2 separate regions of the Homo sapiens genome follow, and region 2 is linked to region 1. Evidence: promoter capture Hi-C in human tissues and cell types (Jung and others, 2019). All regions are on one chromosome and are shown on one strand. Each heading gives the region's core, a stretch centred on a gene start or on the middle of the fragment in contact. The rest is flanking DNA. Distances are from core to core; before and after follow the strand shown.

Region 1 (3,964 bases), core at 1,192-3,691:
AAGGGCTTTTTCCAGTCACATGATGCACCTTCATTATTTTGATGATCCAAAACACTTTTAACTGGGGAGCTAGAGTCCTCAGGGCTCAGTTGCTTGTGGGTCAGAAACTTACATGTAAGCCTTTGAGCCAGAGGAATAAATTCTTCTTCATCTTCACTTTCACTGCTTAGCAACCTGACTGGCTGTGTTTGTGTGACAGTTTCAGCTATTTCTGGGACAGGTGGTGAAAATAACTCTGGTGCTGGAGGACAGGAGGCTTCACAATCTGAGATGTCAACCACTACAATCTTCTCTTCCCTTTCAGGCTGTCTCCTCTTTGTTGAAGATGGTTCCTTCTTCAGAAAGGCAAATGTTGGCAACTCCTCAGAGTCACTATCACCAGAATCCAGTGAGGGTGATGACTTCTTTAGAGCCATCAGTATGTGCTATCAAATAATTCCCTAAAAGGAAAAGAGACATATGACACAGACTGGAGCATTCAATTCAGTCCACTAGCTGTGTTCCATAGCCAGGCTTTATGACATAAATATAAGATATAGAGAATACAGAAACAGAGAAATATGACATGGCCCCAACACATTCAATCTGGAACTCTAACTCCTGGTAATCTAACAGGAATCCTCCTCAAATTCTTTCCAGGTCAAGCTGAAGTATAAACAAAGTAGAGTTACCATTACAAAATTTTAATGGGGGGAGGTGGTAACAAGATTTAACACCTCCAACCCCTTGTTTATCTTCACGTTTGAAATGGAGATGTCAAAAGTTCTTCTTTTTTTTTTTTGAGATGGAGTCTCACTCTGGCACCCACGTTGGAGTGCAGTGGCACAATCTTGGCTCACTGCAACCTCACTCCCAGGTTCAAGTGATTCTCCTGCCTCAGCCTAGCTGGGATTACAGGCGCCCCACCACCACACCTGGCTAATTTTTGTATTTTTAGTAGAGATGCGTTTTCATCATGTTCGCCAGGCTAGTCTTGAACTCCTGACCTCAAGTGATCCGCCCGCCTTGGCCTCCCAAAGTGCTGAGATTACAGGTGTGAACCACTGCACCTGGCCAAAAACTGTTCTTTTTAAAAATTGAGATATAGGCTGGGCATGGTAGCTCATGCGTATAATCCCAGCACTTTGGGAGGCCAAAGCAGAAGGATCACTTGAGCCCAGGAGTTCGAGAACAGCCTGGGCAACATAGTGAGAACTCGTCTCTACAAAAAAATACAAAAATTAGCTGGGTATGGTGGCTCACACCTGTAGTCCCAGATACTCAGGAGGCTGAGGTGGGAGGATTGCTTGAGCCTGGGAGGTCAAGGCTGCAGTGAGCTGTGATTGTACGACTGCACTCCAGCCCGGGTGACAGAGTGAGACCCTGCTTCAAAAGAAAAATAAAATAAAAATAAAAATAGAGATATAATTTGCACAGCATAATATCCTTTTAAAAGTGTACATTCAGTAGATTTTAGTATATTCACAATGTTGTGCAACCATCATCACTATTTTATCACCTCAAAAAGAATTCCTGCAGCCATTAAGCCGTCACTGTCCTTTCCCTCCCTCCCCAGCTCCTGGCAACCATAAATCTGTCTCTATGCATTTGCCTATTCTGGATATTTCATATAAATAGAATCATACACTATGTGGCCTTTTGTGATTGACTTTTTTCACTCAGCTTGTTTTCAAGGTTTATCTATGATGTAGCCTGTATCAGTAGTTAATTGCTTTTCATGACTGAATAATATTCCACTGTATGGATATGCTACATTTTGTTTATCCATTCATCACTTGGACATTTAATTTGTTTCCTTTTTTTGCCTGTTATGAATAATGCTGCTATGAACACTGACATACAAGTTTTTGTGGGGGTATGTTTTCAAATCCCTTTCGTGTATATACCTAGGAGTAGAATTGCTGGGTCATATGCAAAGCTAATCATTTCTTGAACATTTACTAACACTGTAGGTATGACCCAGAAGGAGACATGTAACCTGCCTAGGCCTCAGTTTCTTCCTTAGTAAAACAGGGATGGTAACAGCACCCATTTTATAAGGTAGTGAGAATTAAATAAAATAATGCATCCACCGCGCTTAGTACAGCATCTGGCACACAGCTGGCTAAGTAGAGTAAGTTGAATGACTAGGGAGGGGGCCTCATCTCTGACCCTTCGCTGGGCCTCCGTTGACATCTGCAAATCAGGGGAGTGGGACAAGCGGGCCCCTGCCCGACAAGCTCTGCGCCTCTCAGGCTGGCGGTCCGCTGCAGAGGCTCCTGGACACCTTAGCCACCAAGATTCTGCAGAGCGGTGTTCAGGAGGGAAGCCCTGCCCAATCCGCAGGCCTGCGACCGGGGACGCTCACCTGCAACTTCTCCCGCCACTCTTTCAACTGCCACGCAGGGCCCGGAAGTAGATCTCCTGATAGCGGAAGTAGAAACTTTTCGAGACCGGAAGTGAGTGATCGAAAGCATGGCGTCGGTGGTGTTGGCGCTGAGGACCCGGACAGCCGGTAATGGGACGCAGTAGTCAGAGCGGGGTGAGGCGGGGAGGCAGAGTGGAGCTCCAGCAGGGAGGGAAGGAGGTGACACTGATCCCCGCGGAGGACCTTGGATGCGAGGGGAAGTGTGTGGGGTACTCCAGGTTTGAGGGACGGTGTCGCTGGTCACGTGACACATCCTGGGTGGAGCCGTGAGTGAGGGCGTTTGAAGAGCACTTGTCTTTCTCCTGCCTCAGCAGCACGGACGGGTTCCTTGGCGGTTGGGGATTTGGGTGGGTCCTTTCTCTGTAGAAGTATTAGTAACATTGGCATATTGGGGTTGAAAAAATTAATCTATTGATTCAGCAGATTGAGGTCTTACTTTGTGCTAGACACGGCGGTAGGTGTTCGGAAAATCAGCAGAAAACGTGAAGACTTGGCTTCTAGCCCCCGAACGGTTCTCTCTGGTGCATAAGGCAATAAATGAACATATAAAGTAGATGTAGACTGGCAAGTGCTGTGAAGAAGGATAATGTGTGTCTGTGTGTGTGTCTTTTTTTAGATTGGACGGTGAAGGAAGGCTTCTGAGGAGATAACATTTAAAACCTAAAGAATGACAGGCGGGGCGTGATGGCTCACGCCTGTAGTCCCAACACTTTGGGAGGCCTAGGTGGGCGGATCGCTTGAGCCCAGGAGTTCAAGACCGACTGGGCAACATGGCAAAACCCCATCTCTACAAAAAATACAAAAATTAGCTGGGTGTAGTGGCGCTTGCCTGTGGTCTCAGATACTCAGGAGGCTGAGGTGGGAGGATCACCTGAGCTCGGGAGGTCGAGGTTGCAGTGAGCTATGTTCATACCACTGCACTCCAGCCTGGGTGACAGAATGGGGCCCTATCCCCCCCCCCCAAAAAAAAAAGAATGACAGGAGACCTAGACCTGTGTAGAGTGAGGGACAGGAGAGTGACTTGAGCCAGTTTTACATTTTGAGAAGCAAACTATTGCTCTTATGTAAATTTAAAGGGGATAGGAGTGGAAATGAGGAAATCAAATGGAAAGTCGTAATAGCCCTGAGGAGAGATGATTTAGCCAAGATGTTTGTGGTGGCAGTGAACTTGGAGGAAAACGGATGAATTTGAGATCTGTTTTGGAGTTAGCATCCACAGAGCTTGCTGGTGAACAATATGTGAGGACAGCAAAGAGAAGGAATCTGCAATGACTCTGGTTTCTGCCTAAGCAACTGGATGAATGGTGGTACCATTTACTTTGAGGAGGAGGATGGGGAGTAGGGTGAAGAGCAAAGATTTGTGAGTGAGATAATGTAAGTAAAGTAAAAGCCCAGCTCCTGAGCTTAGTAAGTATGTAAATGAATGAATAGATGTTTAAAGGTAGGTAGATCCTGGCGCCGGGCATGTTTTAACATGTTGTCTTTCTGAGTCCTTATCTCTGGTCCTTTGCCCCAGCTAGTCTCTGGTGTCATGGAAATGTCAGAAACCCAGGCTTC
Region 2 (3,843 bases), core at 176-2,675, 330 kb before region 1:
TCCCAGCTGCTCGGGAGGCTGAGGCAGGAGAATTGCCTGAACCTGGACTTAGAGGTTGCAAGGAGCTCAGAGATCGCCCCACCGAACACCAGCCTGGGCAACAGAGTGAGACTCTGTCTCAAAAACAAGCAAACAAAAACAACAAGCCACTACCTACTCCCATGTCACTGAAATTGTGTTGAAGGACTCAAATCCAGTGCCATACACATCAGTTTCAGATAGAGTATCATGCTGGATGTGAGAATTAAAATTTAAATTGGGGGAACAAATGAAAATGTAAGCTCAAGCAGGGTTACAATTTGCCATGGGGGTCAATTTAAGTGTGTAGTCAGTTTATATTCAGCACCACCTGGTGTGCACTGTGTACTGTGTGAATTACTGTATCATACTAAACAAACAGACATTGGTTTTTCTTAAACTGTAGCAAGAAAAATGCTTGCTGTGCAGATCCCAGCAGCCCCAAGAGACGGAAATGAAAACTCCATGCCTAAATTTATCCCTTCCTATTTCATCTCTCCTTGTTCAGGCCTTCCTCCCTTCCTCCCCAGGGCTATTTCCTTAATCTTGACCCCATCTGTAAAGTTCCATCCTGTGCCACATCGGAGGATCTCTTCAGGGCACCTGGGCTCAACAAAACAATATTTCCTTTTTCTCCCACTGGGTATAAAACAGTGCCAACTGAGGCTCTGAGCCTCATTAGATAGATCGGGCAAGAAGTGAAGCAAAATGCTGTTTACATGTACACCACAGCTCTTCCCAGAGCACTTGGAATCAGGACCAGGACACCTCCAAAGCCTCTTTGGTGTTTTTCCTTTCTTTTCTCCTTATATGGCCTTCATGAAGAGTAACTAATTACAATCTGTAAGCAGTAATTACAGTTCATAAACTGTGAGCACAATATAAATATTTTTCCTGAAAGCCAGGTTAGAAGAAATCCTGTCTAAAATGAGATGTAAAACAACAACAATTGAAATAAATATTCTAACTGAATTGTCCCCAAGCACTGTCAAAAAGAAGAAGAGTCTAATCTATCTCTGTAATAATGGGCGTATTATAGTAGGATCGTTTTCAGCCCATTTCCCCATCCTGCTGGGCACGAATTGGCTCAGATAAGGAAAAGGAGCCAACCAAACTGGGGGAAAATAACAAAAAAACCCCAAATCCCAATAAAAAGAACCCACCAATTATTTTGGATGCCTGGTAAACAGCCTGCACCAGAGGATAAGGCTTTTCTGGCCCTCAGCTATGCTTTTTTCTCTTTTCATGTGTCTTGTCCTCCTCCCTTGAAACTGCGGGGTGGGGAAGTCTAAAAATAGTCAATGAATCATGGCATATAATATTGTGCAGTAGTTACATAAACAGCCAGCCCGGGCGCCGGAGCCCCGGGTCGGAACGGAAAATATCTGGGTCAGCGTTGTCACACTGAACAGGGTCCCCCGGAGCCGGCCTTCGGGAGGCGCGGCCCGGGAGGAGGCCTGGGCCTGCGGGCCGGGAGCAGCAGGGGCGGCCCGCGGGAGGGAGCGGAAGTCCCGGGGCGGGCGCGGGCAGCGGCGCGAGCAGGGCGGGCGAGTTCCGCGCTCCCTCCCCATGGCCGGGAGCGGGCCGCGGCGACGGCGGCGGCGCTGACAGGCCCCGGGCGGGGCGGGGCAGGCGGGCCTGGGCGGGGGCCTGGGGCTGTGGGAAGATGAACGCCCTCCTAGAGCAGAAGGAGCAGCAGGAGAGGCTGCGGGAGGCCGCGGCCTTAGGGGACATTCGGGAGGTGCAGAAACTGGTGGAGAGCGGGGTGGATGTGAACTCCCAAAATGAGGTCAACGGCTGGTAAGTGGGGAGCGGGGGAGGCCTAGGGTCAGGGCAGCCGGTCGGAAGGCGTGGGGCAGTCAGTCGCGACCTGGGCCCAGCGCGGGACGCCTGGCTACGGCGAGGCCTGCCACCTCGGGCCTCCGAGATTGTGCTCTCTTGAGGCCAGCCCTGGCCCCCATGCCTCGTGCGGTCGGGAGCGCGTCCTGCCCAAATCCCGGCCCACGTGGTCCACTCGGGGCAGCGCCCACTGGGACTCTGGTGCCCTACCCCCTTCCCCCGCGCTCCCGGCTCACTTGGTCAGAGCGGTGCTGGAGGCAGTGATTCTCAGCGACTATGCGTTGGAGCTCACCCCAATTCGAGTGTTGAGTTAATTTGCCGTAGGTGCTTCTGGAGAACGCATCTTGCAGAGCTAAAAGCATAAGCAACTGAGCAAATATGAATTTTATAAACTAGCACGATTTCCTTAGCCAAGACCAGGAAAAAAAAACACATTTGCATCACCATTCTGCTTCTCTGTTGTTTCACTGCAACCGATTTGCTGCTGCTGCCTGTAGTTGCCTGTTTGAGGGAAAACTCATTTGTTTATCCTATCGATTATTTTCTTTCTTTTTTTTTTTTTTTTTTTTTTTTTTTTTGAGACAGGGTCTTGCCCTGTCGCCCAGGGTGGAGTGCAGTGGCATAGTCTCGGCTCACTGCAACTTCTACCTCCCCGGCTCAGGTGATCCTCCTGCCACAGCCTCCCAAATAGCTGGGAATACAGGCACGCGCCCCCACACCCGGCTAATTTTTTTTTTTTTTTTTTTTGGTATTTTTGGTAGAGATGGGGCCAGGTTGGTCTCAAACTCCTGGCCTCAAGTGATCCACCCGCCTCAGCCTCCAAAAGTGCTGGGATTACAGATGTGAGCCTACCGTTCCTGGCCAGTTTTCTTATTACAATTTCAAATACAGAATGTCACCCAAGACTTTAGATGTCTGCCTGCAGATTGAATTCTTCCCAATTAAATAAGGAGTCTCATCTTAAGATGTTGCTGGTGGTCAAAACAGAAAGTTACTGAATGTGGCATTATTCCGCTCTCTGCATTTAAAATTTAAAATTTTGATTCAGGTAATGCTTAGCCAGACTATTTTGCTAGCTTAGAGTTAAAGTGAGTAGCACTTTGGGAGGCTGAGGTGGGCGGATCACGAGGTCAGGAGATCAAGACCATCCTGGCCAACATGATGAAACCCCGTCTCTACTAAAAATACAAAAATTAGCTGGGCGTGGTGGTGCATGCCTGTAGTCTCAGCTACTTGGGAGGCTGAGGCAGGAGAATCACTTGAACCTGGGAGGCGGAGGTTGCAGTAAGCCAAGATTGCACCACTGCACTCCAGCCTGGGCGACAGAGCAAGACTCTACCTCAAAAAAAAAAAAAAGTGAGTTTACATTTTGTTTTTTTAAGTGGAATCATCCATTTTGGAACTGAAAGGGACAATGGAGAGAGGCTCAACCACAGAGAATAACTTGCCCTAGGCCACATAACTATTAATATGATAGCACCAGAACCATGGTTTCCAGACTGCCTCAAAAGTCTACCTACCTGGACCTGGCGCGGTGGCTGACGCCTGTAATCTCAGCACTTTGGGAGGCCAAGGTGGGCAGATCACGATGTCAGGAGTTCGAGACCATTCTGGCCAACATGGTGAAACCCTGTCTCTACTAAAGATACAAAAATTAGCCAGGGGTAGCGGTGTGTGCCTGTCATCCCAGCTACTTGGGATGCTGCAGCAGGAGAATCACTTGAACCAGGGAGTTGGAGGTTGAAATGAGCCAAGATCACACCACTGCACTCCAGGCTGGTGGCAGAGCGAGACTCTGTCTCAAAAAAAAAAAAAAAAAAAGTCTATCTTCCTGGTAGGACCTGGTGGCTCACGCCTGTAATCCCAGCACTTTGGGAGGCCAAGGCAGGAGGATCACTGGAGTCCAGAAGTTTGAGACCAGCCTGGGCAACATAGTGAGATCCCAGTCTCAAAAAAAAATTTTTTTCTACCTAATTTCCCTAAAGA

Evidence for each region. Contacts are between HindIII fragments. The study calls those that stand out against the background at their distance.
Region 2: a contact is called between the fragment with the promoter of ANKRD40 here and the fragment with the promoter of MRPL27 in region 1, in 1 of the 25 tissues and cell types used here (dorsolateral prefrontal cortex).

The regions. Positions count from the first base shown.
Region 1 is chr17:50,371,661-50,375,624 of GRCh38, reverse strand. MRPL27 (mitochondrial ribosomal protein L27) reads left to right here and starts at 2,441. Exons shown (of 4, transcript NM_016504.3): 1 at 2,441-2,494. The coding sequence starts at 2,455. EME1 (essential meiotic structure-specific endonuclease 1) reads right to left here and starts at 2,396. Exons shown (of 9, transcript NM_152463.4): 1 at 2,348-2,396; 2 at 1-440. The coding sequence starts at 416. RefSeq lists enhancers at 2,078-2,297, 2,438-2,907. The HindIII fragment of the contact is 32,602 bases long and covers 1-3,964 here.
Region 2 is chr17:50,705,496-50,709,338 of GRCh38, reverse strand. ANKRD40 (ankyrin repeat domain 40) reads left to right here and starts at 1,425. Exons shown (of 5, transcript NM_052855.4): 1 at 1,425-1,818. The coding sequence starts at 1,685. RefSeq lists silencers at 1,480-1,689, 1,820-2,089. The HindIII fragment of the contact is 5,112 bases long and covers 793-3,843 here.